Linked DNA regions of Homo sapiens: region 1 is linked to region 2. The links are contacts of gene promoters, found by promoter capture Hi-C in human tissues and cell types (Jung and others, 2019). All regions are on one chromosome and are shown on one strand. The core of a region is centred on a gene start or on the middle of the fragment in contact, and the rest is flanking DNA. Distances in the headings are between cores, read along the strand shown. Region 1 has its middle 6.2 kb from the start of HILPDA. Region 2 holds the start of TNPO3 (transportin 3).

What was found. Contacts are between HindIII fragments. The study calls those that stand out against the background at their distance.
Region 1: a contact is called between a fragment that was not itself captured here and the fragment with the promoter of TNPO3 in region 2, in 1 of the 25 tissues and cell types used here (lymphoblastoid cells).

The regions. Positions count from the first base shown.
Region 1 is chr7:128,446,475-128,452,942 of GRCh38, forward strand. No RefSeq gene overlaps it. Among named protein-coding and RNA genes, the nearest start is that of HILPDA, 6.2 kb to the right of the region's middle. The HindIII fragment of the contact is 7,397 bases long and covers 1-6,418 here.
Region 2 is chr7:129,053,851-129,060,557 of GRCh38, forward strand. It overlaps TNPO3 (transportin 3), which reads right to left and starts at 1,261. Exons shown (of 23, transcript NM_012470.4): 1 at 801-1,261. The coding sequence starts at 920. It also overlaps the pseudogene TPI1P2. RefSeq lists enhancers at 794-1,293, 2,105-2,399 and a silencer at 2,105-2,399. The HindIII fragment of the contact is 20,371 bases long and covers 1-6,696 here.

The sequences.
Region 1 (6,468 bases), core at 1,470-3,969, 610 kb before region 2:
CGGAGTGAGTTGGCTGGCAGCAGAAATGTCTGGGCATCTGTGTCTGGGGGAGAGGTGCCAGCTGTCTAGGCAGAGAGAAAATGTGCCCATGTGCACACACACGTGTGTAAAGGTAGGGCATGTGTGTGTGAACACATGCAGCAGAGGGAAGAGCAGCTGTTGTCATTGTGAATGACAACAGCACAGACACCAGGAGAACCCCGTTGTCTCCCAACCCAGAGACTCAGACTCTGCCTCCCTGCCTGGAGCAAGACACCCATCTCCTCTGGTAGCACCTCGACCATCTACCAGGCAGCAACGGAGCTCATTTGAGGCCTGGCCCTTTTGCAGCTAACCTGGGCTCTCCCATGCTCATAGAGCCCACTGTGACCACCAAGAGAAGGTGACAGCAAGGAGGAAGGCTCCCGCTATGTTCTAACATTCAATGATTTTATGGTTCCATGAAGGAAAGAGAGAGCAACATGTCAATACACAGATTTATCCTAAACTGCTGGATGGAAATAACTTGGAAAACAGCATAGAATGAGTAAACTCTTAAATACATGTTTCCAGTGAGTTTCCTTTTTGATTCTAATTACCTCCATAAGACAGAGGACTGTCCCCAAGCCTTTACTGAGATGAGAAAGTAGGGACTTCTTCACCCCAAATCTTTCCTAAGGTTTTATTTACAGACTTTTTCAAAACATTCACAATACTTTTTCTTCTTCTTATAATACATGCTCATAGTAGAAAAATTGAAACTCAAGAAACTATAAAACCTCCATAATCCACCCCATCCTCACTTTACTTCCACAGGCCTCAGATATGCCTGCTATGGGATGCCCCATCATGTTAAAATGCACCCACATCTCACATCTGAAGTTACTGTGCTGAGTTGAAACTGTCTAGTTGGCCAGGCACAGTGGCTCATGCCTGTAATCCTTGCACTTTGGGAGGCTGAGGTGGGTGGATCACTTGAGGCCAGGAGTTCAAAACCAGCCTGGCCAACATGGAGAAACCCCATCTCTACTAAAAATACAAAAAAATTAGCCAGACGTGGTGACAGGCAGCTGTAATCCCAGCTACTCAAGAGGCTGAGGCAGGAGAATTGCTTAAACCTGGGAGGCAGAGGTTGCAGTGAGCCGAGATCATGCCACTGCCCTCCAGCCTGGGTGACAGAGCGAAACTCCATCTCAAAAAAAAAAAAGAAAAGAAAAGAAGGAAACTGTCTAGTTAACATATATTTTGCAGACCTTTGATTAAATGTTTATGAATTTTAGTTCTGTCATTTAAAATTTTTTGAAGCCAATATATTTTGTTTTCTATATCTCAAATATGTTTGAGAGTCCCTGAAAAGTCTATAGGCCCCAGGAACTGTGCTTATTGTGACTAATGAATAAGAGGACCCTGCCCAGTGAAAAATGTTACTATTTAAGAGTAGATACACTGTCAGTCTCTCTCTCTCTCTCTCTCTCTCTCTCTATGCATTTATCATGGATAACTTAGAGAGCCCATATAGTTTTGAATACTGTTTTTCTCCTATTCTACACTGTTCATCCAGTATTTCGCAGACAGAGCTTGAGAGCAGAGGCCTGCTGTGTCAGTGGGAGTCCCCCACCCACACCACAGCTTCTCAGTGCAGGTTCTAGGACCACACACCTCTTAGGTAGAAAGGCTCTGAGAGAGACAGCTTGTCTCCCTCAGACCTGAGCTTCACAGATGAGGAAACTGAGGCCTGAAGAAGTGGCTGGCCCCAGGTGAGTGGTTAGTTAGTACCACAACCAGACTCAGAATTTAGGTTGCTGGCTCAGGTGCGAGGTGAAGAAGCCACTGCTTGCCTTGGGTGCCCTCTGCCCAACTTCCAGGGCCAACTCTCTGTGGGCACCTTCCTCTGGTGCCATACTGCCAGGCCCTCCCACTCCACTCCCGCCTCCCACTAGCTGCTCCAAGCTTTTGACCCAATTTCCCCATCCAAACTCCTGTGTTTGTTTTCCCTTCATTGTCACAATGTTGCTCAAGCTGTAAATTTACAAAATGTTAGTAAATTTTAATTTTTTTCTCTGATCGTAAAAGTAACAGATGCACATGGGAGAAAATAGGAGGAAAAAAGGAGTTCATTATATCACCCAGAGATGATCACTGTAAAAATGCTGTGCAACAAACATCAATAAATAGAATTAGAAATTGATCAGCTGCTCTGTCATAATTATTATTAATTTTTTTAGAGACGGGGTCTTGTCATGTTGCCTAGGCTGGTCTTGAACTCTTGGGCTCAAGCAATGCTCCCACATCAGCTTCCCAAAGTGCTGATATTACAGGCGTCAGCCACCATGCTTGGTGTGTTTCCTTTCAGTTATAAAATATCTCAGATACATAAACATGATTCGTTCATTCGACAAATATTTGTTGAGCATATACCACATGGAAGGCACTATTCTGGGTTTAGGAACATAATAATTGACACAATAGTCCGAGTCCTTGTTCTCAAGGAGCTACATTCTAGCGGAGGAAGATAGATAATCAACAAATAAATATAAAACAGGTTTGTTGGTGTTGAGTACTATGAAGAAAAAATAAAACAGGGTAAAGGAGAAGAGTAGGTGGTGAGTGTTACTGTACATGAAATGATTGGGAAAGCCTCCCTGAGAAATGACATTTGATCAGGGTCCAGAAGGAAGTGACACAGTGAGCCAAATATTGAGTGAACATGTTTCAGACACTGAGGACATAATAGTGAATAAAAGTGACATTCCACTCTGGGCCACCGGCCCTCCTCTTCATTGTAGACACCTTGTACTATTTTACCTAATGGCCTGAAGACTGAATTGTACAGGAAGAGAAGGAAGAGGAAGAGCTACCCTTAACATTTTAATTTTTTTTGGCGGGTGCGGTGGCTCATGCCTGTAATCCCAGCACTTTGGGAGGCTGAGGCAGGTGGATCACCTGAGGTCAGGAGTTCGAGACCAGCCTGGCCAACATGGTGAAACCCCATCTCTACTAAAAAAAAGTACAAAAATTAGCTAGGTGTGGTGGCTGGCACCTGTAGTTCAGCTACTCGGGAGGCTGAGGCAGGAGAATCGCTTGAACCCGGGAGGTGGAGGTTGCAATGAGCTGAGATCGCACCACTGCACTCCAGCCTGGGTGACAGAGTGAGACTGTCTCAAAAAGATAAAAATAAATAATAAATATAAATATATTTATTTATTTAATAAGGTTGGTCTTGAATTCCTGACCTCAACTGATCCACCTGCCTTGGCCTACCAAAGTTCCAGGATTATAGGCATGAGCCACCGCGCCCAACCAACTCTTAACATTTTAATATACAGACTTAAAAAGTCTAAAATTGGCTGGGTGTGGTGGCTTACACCTGTAATCCCAGCACTTTGTGAGGCTGAGGCAGGTGGATCACTTGAGGTCAGGAGTTTGAGACCAGCCTGGCCAACATAGTGAAATGTCTCTACTAAGAATACAAAAATTAGCTGGGCATGGTGGTGGGTGCCTGTAATCCCAGCTACTCGGGAGGCTGAGGCAGGAGAATCACTTGAACCTGGGAGGCGAAGGTTGCAGTGAACCGAGATTGCACCATTGCACTCCAGCCTGGGTGACAAGACCAAGACTCTGTCTCAAAAAAAAAAAAAAAGTCTAACATTAATCAATATTTACTTTCCTCCCAAATAAAAACATATTAAACTTCATCTTTGCTCACTGTTCCCATCTGAAATGTTTACCAATTTTTCAGTTTATCTTGTTATTTTTACTTTTCTAAATCAACCATTATTACTAAAAATAGTTTTGAGTAGTCATAATTTGTTTAGATACATCCATATGTTTTGTAAATATTTCCTTACCATTTTTTCTTGCATTTCCCTATTTCCTTTTGGGTTCAGTTTTCTTGTGTCTTAGGTTCATTCTTCAGTAGTTTCCACGGTAAGGGCCTACGGCAGCTAACTCTGTTTTTGTTTGTCATCTGACGATGTCTTCAACTTGCCCTCCTTTAAAGAAAATAATGACTTTATTCAGATATAGTTCACATATCAAAATCCACCGTTTTAAAGGATACAATTCAATGGTTAAGTACATTCATAGACTTGTATAACTGTCAGCACTAATTTTAGAACATTTCATCACCAGCCCACACACCAAAAAAAAAACCACCCTGTACCCACTAGCAGTCATTCCCCAGTCCCCTCTCCTCCAGCCCTTGGCAACCACTTACCTACTTTCTGTCTCTGTGGATTTGCCTTTTTTTTTTTTTTGAGACAGTCTTGCTCTGTTGCCCAGGCTGGAGTGCAGTGGTGTGATCTCGGCTCACTGCAACCTCTGCCTCCTGGGTTCAAGCGATTTTCCTGTCTCAGCCTCCCAGGTAGGTGGGACTACAGGTCAGCACCACCATGCCTGGCTAATTTTGTCTTTTTGGTAGAGACAGGGTTTCACCATGTTGGCCAGGCTGGTCTCAAACTCCTGACCTCCAGTGATCTGCCCACCTTGGTCTCTGTGCTGGGATCCTCAAAGTGCTGGGCTTACAGGTGGGAGCCACTACGCCCAGCCCTGGATTTGCCTATTCTGACATTTCATATAAATGGAATCATACGATATGTACCCTTTTGTTTCTGGTTTCTTTCACTTAGCATAATGTGTTCAAGGTGCATCCATATTGTAGCATGTATCAATACTTCATTTTTTATGGCTGAATAATATTCCATTGTATCACATTTTGTTTATCCTTTAGCCAGTTGACGGACATTTGGGTTGTTTCTACTTTTTTGGCTATTATGAATAATGCTGCTATGAACATTTGTGTATAAGCGTTTGTGTGTGAACATACATCTTCGGTTCACTTGGGTATATATTTAGGAGCTAAACTGCTGGATCATACAGTAACTCTATGTTTAACTTTTTGAGGAACTATTCTAAAGCAGCTGCACTATTTTACATTCTAACAGCAATGTATGAGGGTTCTGTTTTTTCTACATTTTCATCAACATTTGTTCTTTTCTGGGTTTTTTTGCTTGTTTGTGTTATAGCCATCCTAGTGAGTGTGAGGTGGTGTCTCATTGTATTCTATTTTTTATGTTCATTTTAACATAAATGTAGCATACTGCTCACATACTATAAACCCTTTTCATTTAACAATATATTGTGGAGATCTTGTCGATATATACAGAACTTACTCTCTTTTTTCTGGCTTTATGGTAATTCACTGTCTGAATGCACCATCTTTTATTTAACCAGTTCTCTACTGATGGGCTGTTTTTTCCAGTCTTTCATTATCACAAACAGTGCTGCAACAGTGCTACCTTTAAACACTCCATTCTCTACATGTGGAAGGATAAATCCTAAAAGTGGAATTCTGGGCTAAAGGGCATGTGTATGCTTTTATTTTTATAGACATTGCCAAATGGTAGTCAGTGGTCTTTTTTAACACCTCAATGGTCTTGAGGTGTTTAAAAAACAAGTGGGGGTCAGGGTAACAATTACTGACAAATTGATTTCCATACTGAATGTACCAGTTTATACTTACCAGAAATGTAAGTACATGTTATTTAAATGAACACTTGATGATAAGATCAAATTTGTGAAAATACTTGTGTTCTTAGTATGGTACTCTTGTGTGGGTTGACTTCAGAATCACTTCTTTTTAGGGGCTTTGGGGGAAGGGCAGCTTATAAAAAGCTTTCCTTGGTTGCAGCTCCAAGGAGGAGGTAGCACCTGAAAACGGCTTCTCTTGGCGCCCTTATCTACATTTCCTTGATGAAACAATGGGTACTCACTGAAGATGCTGGGTAAAATATTCATTCATTTATTCCTTCAGTCAACAAATATTTATCAAAAGCCTACTATTTGGTGCTAGCTGCTGGAGATGGAATGGAAACAAAATCAGACCAAACACTCCTTTCACTGACATTTTCAGGCTTTTGAAAGGACACAGACATTAATACAACTAAGGGTAAAGTAACACACTGGGAAAGAAATGCCTATCATGCCACTGGAGCCCGGAACAGGGTCCGAGGGTCAGCAAGGGTGACCAGAGGAAATATGTTTGAATTGAGATATGAAAGATGAGTAAAAGACTAGGTGAAGAAAGTCTCTTCTTCCTCTGGAAGAAAAAGCATAGTTAACAAATAAAGAAGGCTGGGTATGGTGGCTCACACCTGTAATCCCAGCACTTTGTGAGGCTGAGGCACGTGGATCACTTGAGGTCAGGAGTTTGAGACCAGTCAGGGCAGCATAGAGAGACCCCATCTCTACAAAAAAAAAAGAAAGAAAAGCAAGAAAAGAAAGGAAAGAAAGGGAAGAAAGGGAGAAAGAAAGAAAAAGAAAGAAAGAAAGAAAGAGAAAGAAAGAAAGAAAAAGAAAGAAAGAAAGAAAGGAAAGAAAAGGAAAAGAAAAGAAAAGAATTAGCTGGTGTGGTGGTGGCAAAGAAAGAAAAAAGAAAGAATTAGCTGGGTGTGGTGGTGTGTAACTGTAGTCCCAGCTACTTAGGAGGCT
Region 2 (6,707 bases), core at 11-2,510:
GAAAATTAGGGCAGGAAGCATAAAACATGAATCAAAGAATGCAGAAATACAACAGATATAAGCTACAATTAAATATCTCACCGGATGCACACACAGTTTTATATGGAATAATCAAAGCAGCAGTGATACCCATCTTATAAATAAAAATCTAAAAGCCAGAGAAATAACAAGGTTAGAGGATTAATATGAAACAAAATGAGAACTCCAAAGATTTTCTGAAAGCAGAATTACTGTTTTTTCTTCATATTATGTTGCCACTCCAAAGCAAGGGGAAAACTCGCATGAGTAAGAATCTAGAAACCTGAGAAGTTTCGAGAAGAACAGACTCAAACTGGAGTGAAAATAGGCAAAAAGAGTGAGGCATAAGGCTACGACTGGGAGCAAAATGCCAGATGCAAGTCTTGGACACGGAGGGGAGACGAATAAAGCCTTCTTAAGCGGAAGGTGGAGAAACACTGGGGTTGGATTTGGTGGGAGGAAGACAAAACGGAAAAGCACGGCCCAAGAAGCAACGGCAAAGGGAGAACTTAAACAAGATTAGATTGATGCCACAATCGAAGAGTATAAGACCTACAAATCAGATTCTGCCGGGTGGGGAAAGGGCCAGTTCGCGACCGATCAGGTGCGACTAGTTTCCCAAAAGCGGCAAAGATGTAGCTTCGCAGCCCCACCCCACGACAGCAGCTCCTCCCCAAGGAGGACCTCACGAGGTCAACTGCCGGGCTCAGGTTCTCCCCCGGAGCCTAGGTTCCACCCCGCCCCGGCCGTGCGGCACAGAACTGCCTCTCTGGGCCCCTCACCGAACGCTGCAGCTCCCCAAGCCAAAAAGAGGCGCGCTCCTTTCCGCTGGGATCTGGGTCGTGGTAAAGCGCCTGCACTGCCTGGTACACGAGCTGCAATGTCGGCTTTGCTCCTTCCATGGTGGTGGCGGTAGTGGCGGTAGCGACGGCTCTGATTCTTCTCCGGAGGATTCCTCGGTTGCTCCGCCTTCGCGCTTCCTCACTGTCTGGGCCACGGCCGCTCCCTGACTGGCGCCATCTCCTCCTCTTTGGCCGTTACCAGGGCAGAAGGCTCTCCGTGGAAGTTGCCCCCTCGGAAACAGCTATTAGGTCGTATTCAGGTTCCTGGCCTTTTTTCCGGTTTTTCCACTTGATTCTAGACTCTTGAGTCCACAGATTCTGGCGCTCCCGTCTTCAGTCGCTGACTTGCCCTCAGAAGCCTATCTTGGGAGGCCACACACCAGTGTACCTAAGGTTCGTTTACCCGGACCGGAAGCGACAGCACCGATACCTTTGGCACACTTCCGCCTGGTACACTACAAACGGCCTCCTTCCCGGCACGCCTCCTCTTGTCTCCCCGCCCCCTCCCGGAAGTAACCCTGCCGGGCCAGGAGCCGGGAAGAAGAGCCGGTGTTCTCTCTGTTCCTCGCTAGCAGCTTGGGACATTAGCGCCGAGATGTGCCCCATATCTGAGCTGCCTTCAGCTCCTTGGAAACGGATCCAGGTTTTTCCTACCCCTTCCGACTGCCCCATCCCTCTCCAGAGAATCCTTTTCTGCCCTGGTGATCAAGGCGCGTCAATTCAACTCTCCCTAGAGTGGCCACAGTACTGGAGATCCAAAGATGACTTAAGACATGGTACCTACGCTGGCTCTAGTGGAGGAGACAGACACGTAGTCAACTGAACTATTTTACAAACCTGAAATATGTGCCACATTGAGATAAATCCAAAATGCCTAGAATCTTTGTTCAGCTCCCCTTTACTTAGTTCTTAAGCCCAAAAGAGGTCTTCATTCTGCTTACAGCTCCTGGTGCTCTAACTCCAGAGCATTTTGCATACATCTTTAGGGTTATTCTCACATTGAACTGTATTTTTGTGAATGCCTTTCTGTCCGAATCCAATACCAGTGGTCTAACAATTCACAAAAGAAAACAGAAATATTGGAAACTGTACTATGGAGAAATTAGGGACAAAAGGTAACAGTATATTGATATTAACATTGCTGCTAGTCCTTTGCACTAGTAAATAACTGCTATTTGATAAATGATCACAATGTGTAAAACACTGTAGTTACAAGATCTCATTTAATCCGCCTAACAACCTTGCCAAGTATTAATAAAACCCGTTTTAGGCGCTGACACTGACCTACAGCGCCTCAGCTCCAGCGCCATGGCGCCCTCCAGGAAGTTCTTCGTGGGGAGGAACTGGAAGATGAACGGGCGGAAGAAATGTCTGGGGGAGCTCATCGGCACTCAGAACGCGGCCACTGTGCCTGCCGACACCAAGGTGATTTGTGCTCTCGCCACTGCGTATAACGAGTTGGCCCGGCAGAAGCTAGCTCCCAAGATTGCTGTGGCTCCGCAGAACTGCTACAAAGTGACTAATGGGGCCTTTACTGGGGAGATCAGCCCTGGCATGGTCAAAGACTTAGGAGTCACGTGGGTGGTGTGGTCCTGGGGCACTCAGAAGGCGTGTCTTTGGGGAGTCAGATGAGCTGATTGGGCAGAAAAGTGGCCCATGCTCTGGCAGAGAGACTCGGAGTAATCGCCTGCATTGGGGAGAAGCTAGATGAAAGGGAAGCTGGCATCACTGAGAAGGTTGTTTTTGAGCAGACAAAGGTCATCGCAGATAATGTGAAGGACTGGAGCAAGGTCATCTTGGCCTATGATCCCGTGTGGGCCACTGGTACTGGCAAGACTGCAACACCCCAACAGGCCCAGGAGGTACACAAGAAGCTCCGAGGATGGCTTAAGTCCAACATCTCTGATGCAGTGGCTCAGAGCACTGGTATCATTTATGGAGGCTCTGTGACCAAGGCAACCTGCAAGGAGCTGGCCAGCCAGCCTGACGTGGCTGCCTTCCTCATGAGTGGTGTTTCCCTCAAGCCCGAATTCGTAGACATCATCAATGCCAAACAATGAGCCCCATCCGTCTTCCCTACCCTTCCTGCCAACCCAGGAACTAAGCAGCCCAGAAGCTGAGTGACTGCCCCTCCCCTGCACATGCTTCTGATGGTGTCATCTGCACCCTATTGTGGCCTCATCCAAACTGTATCTTCCTTTACTATGTATACCTTCACCGTGTAATGGTCGGGACCAGACCAATCCCTTCTCCACTTACTGTAATTGTTGGAACTAAATGTCACCAATGTGGCTTCTCCTTGGCTGAGAGGTGAAAGGGATGGAATTTGCTCCTGGGTCCCCTAGGCCCTAGTGAGGGGAGGAGAGAGAACCCATCCTCTCCCTTCTTACACTGTGAGGCCAAGCAGAAGCCAGGGGTGCTGCCCTCTCCCACGGTGCCAACGCCTTTGTGTGTTGTGTATGTGAGCCATCCCACATGTGAGGGAAATAAACCCCTGGCACTTAAAAAACAAACAAAAAAACGCATTTTAAAGAAAGAAAAATAGTAATGTAATTTGCCCAAGGATACAGTTCTTAAAGTTAGGATTTGAATCCAGATCAGTGTTGCTCCAAAACCTGTTAAATCACACAATCCCTATCATCTTGTGCATTCGTTTGCTTCTGAATTGTTAGTCAAGGAATTTTTAACTGCCAACAACATGATGAAAACAATGTTACTGCACAGAGTTGATACAATTTTAGACAGAAAAAAGAAACTTGATATTTTGGTTACCTAATCCATTCATTCATTAAAAAAAAATTTAGTGCTGGGCTTGGTGGCTCACAACTGTGTAATCCCGGCATTTTGGGAGGCCGAGGCAAGAGGATTACCTTTGAGGCCAGGAGTTCAAGACCATCCTGGGTAATGAAATGAGACTCCATCTCTACAAAAAAAAATGCAAAAAAATTAGCAGGGCATGGTGGTGGGTGCTTCTAATCCCAGCTACTCAGGAGGCTGAGGTGGGAGTATTGCTTTAGCCCAGGAGGTGGGGGTTGCAGTGAGCAGAGATTGTGCCACTGCACTCCAGCCTGGGAAACAGTGAGACCATATCTCAAAACAAATTTTTTTGTGTGTATCAAAGGACACTATCAAGAAAGTGAAGTAACAGTCCACAACATGGAAGGGAATGTGCAAATAACATATCTGATAACTGATTAGTATCCAGAGTATATAAAGAACTCTTACAATTCAACAATGAAAAGACAACTCAGTTTTTGGGTTTGTTTTGTGTGTGTGTGTGTGTGTGTGTGTGTTTTGTTTTTTTGTTTTGAGTTGGAGTCTTGCTCTGTTGCCCAGGCTAGAGTACAATGGCACAATCTCAGCTCACTGAAACCTCCACCTCCTGGGTTCAAGCGATTCTTGTACCTCATCCTCCCACGTAGTTGGGATTACAGGTGCCCACAACCATGCCTGGCTGATTTTTGTATTTTTAGTAGAAACAGGGCTTCACCACGTTGGCCAGGTTGGTCTCGAACTCCTGACCTCAAGTGATCCACCCGCCTCAGCCTTTCAAAGTGCTGGAATTACAGGCGTAAGCCACCATGTCTGGCCTCAGATAATTCAGTTTTTTAAATGGGCAGTGAATTTGAATAGACATTTCTTCCAAGAAGATATACAAATGCACATGAAAAGATGCTCATCATTAGCCCTCAGGGAAATACAAATCAAAACTGCAATGAGATACAACTTCACACCCACTAGAAAAACTAAAATTTAAAAAATGATAAATGCTGGTGAGAATGTGGACAAATCAGAACTCTCATGCACTATTCATGGGATTGTATCATGGTGCGGCCATGTTGAAAAAGTTTGGCAGCTCTTCAAAAAAATGTTAAACATAGAATTATCATATGAACCAGCAGTTCTACACTTAGGTATATACTCAAGAGAAATGATAACGTGTGTGCATACAAGCACTTGCACGTGCATATTCATAGCAGCATTATTCATAATAGACGGCAGAAACAGCCCCAATATCCGTCATTTGATGCATGGATAAACAAAGTGTGCTATATCCATACAATGAAAGGTTATTTGACCCTTAAAAGGAATGAAGTACAGATAGATGCTACAATATAGATAAACTTGAAAAATTATGCTAAGTGAAAGTGGCCAGACACAAAAGGCACATTAATTACGCGATTCTATTTACATAAAATGTTCAGAGTAGGCAAAATTCTAAATATAGACAGTAGATTGGTCATTTCCAGGGTTGGTTTTTTGTTTTGGGTTTTGTTTTTTTTTGTATTGATGGAAATAAATGCTCTGGAATTATTGACGATGTTCAGAAAAACCTCATGAATATATTAAAAACCACTGGCATATGTTTTTTATATGTTTTAAAAGGATGAGTTTTATGGCAATGTGAACTATATTTCAATAAAACTTATTTTTAAAAGTTCTATGGTTAGGAATTATTAAAACACCACATGGATATTTAGCTAACAGTTGGAGAAAAAAGAAAAAAAAATAGAGGTGATACCTAACCCAGAGTAGAGAGATTGGTAACACCATCTGGAGAAATTATGTCTAAACTGAGACCAGACTGATAGATAAATAGGAAGCAATTAGGCAAAGGGTTTAGTATTGTAGGCAGAGGCAACAGTATGAAAGCCTGGAGGCAAGGGAAAAAATTACCTTCTGAAGACTGAAAGTAGCTGAAGGATAGAGTTGACATTGGGTAGGAGTAAGAAATGAAGCTAAACAGTGTTTAACCCATCTTTGTGACCTCATGCCATTACCTGATACATAGTGGGTGCTTAGCAAATGTCTTAAGTGACATGTTTCTTTGTTCCTTAGTCTTAAAAAAAAAAAAAGTCTAGTTTGACATGAAATGGCTTGGGCAGGGAAGGTGGCTAGAACAGAAATAAGAAAAGATTGTAATAATCGTGGTGAGGAGTGATGGTAGCCTGGAGTAAAGTGTTGGCGGTGGGCATGGAGATAGAGAGGTATTTAGGAACTTCAGAGGAAGAATCTTGATATGGTGATTACTTAAGCTGCAAGGTGTGACAAGAGGGAAGAAAACCCAGGCTTTTGAGATATGGAACCTAAAGGAAGAAATGGCTTTTATGGAAACAGAAAGGGATATGAGGATGAAGATAAGTTTAATCTTAGCCATGTTGAATATTGAGGCACTTAACAGACAGCCAAGACCAGCAGGCTGTAGCATGTGTGGGACTGAAGCCCAGGGGGTGGGTTGAAAATCCAGATTTGCGAGTTGTCAGTTTCTAGTTGGTGGCTAAAGACAAAGGAGTGATTGAGACGCGCATCTTTAAGCACCAAATAAATGCACCAGAGATGTCGAATATTGTTAGAAAATACATTTGAAATAAAATATTAGAAATATATAAAATATTTAAAATATCAAAACCCCATAACTTTTGTCATTAGGCACAATGGTAACCCTAGGAAAACTGGACTCTAATGCAAAGTTTCATGAGACCAAACCCACCCCCAACAAAAAGAGCCCTGACTCCTTCCTTCTGCAAGCAAGCTAAATATGGATTCTCTGAAGGAAAGAAGGAAAGAGATAATGAGTGTTTCTTTTACTGACTTGGGGTGAGATTATCCAAAGATTGAGGGCTGTACCTCAAGCACTCCAGTTCTCTACAGGCAATGCCATGAAGCCTTCCATAAAAGCTTTGATCTGGCCAGGCGAGGTGGCTCACACCTGTAATCCCAACACTTTGGGAGGCTGAGGTGAGTGGATCACCTGAGGTCCGGAGTTTGAGACCAGCCTGGCCAACATGGCGAAATCCCGTCTCTACTAAAAATGCAAAAATTAGCCAGGCGTGGTGGCATGTGCCC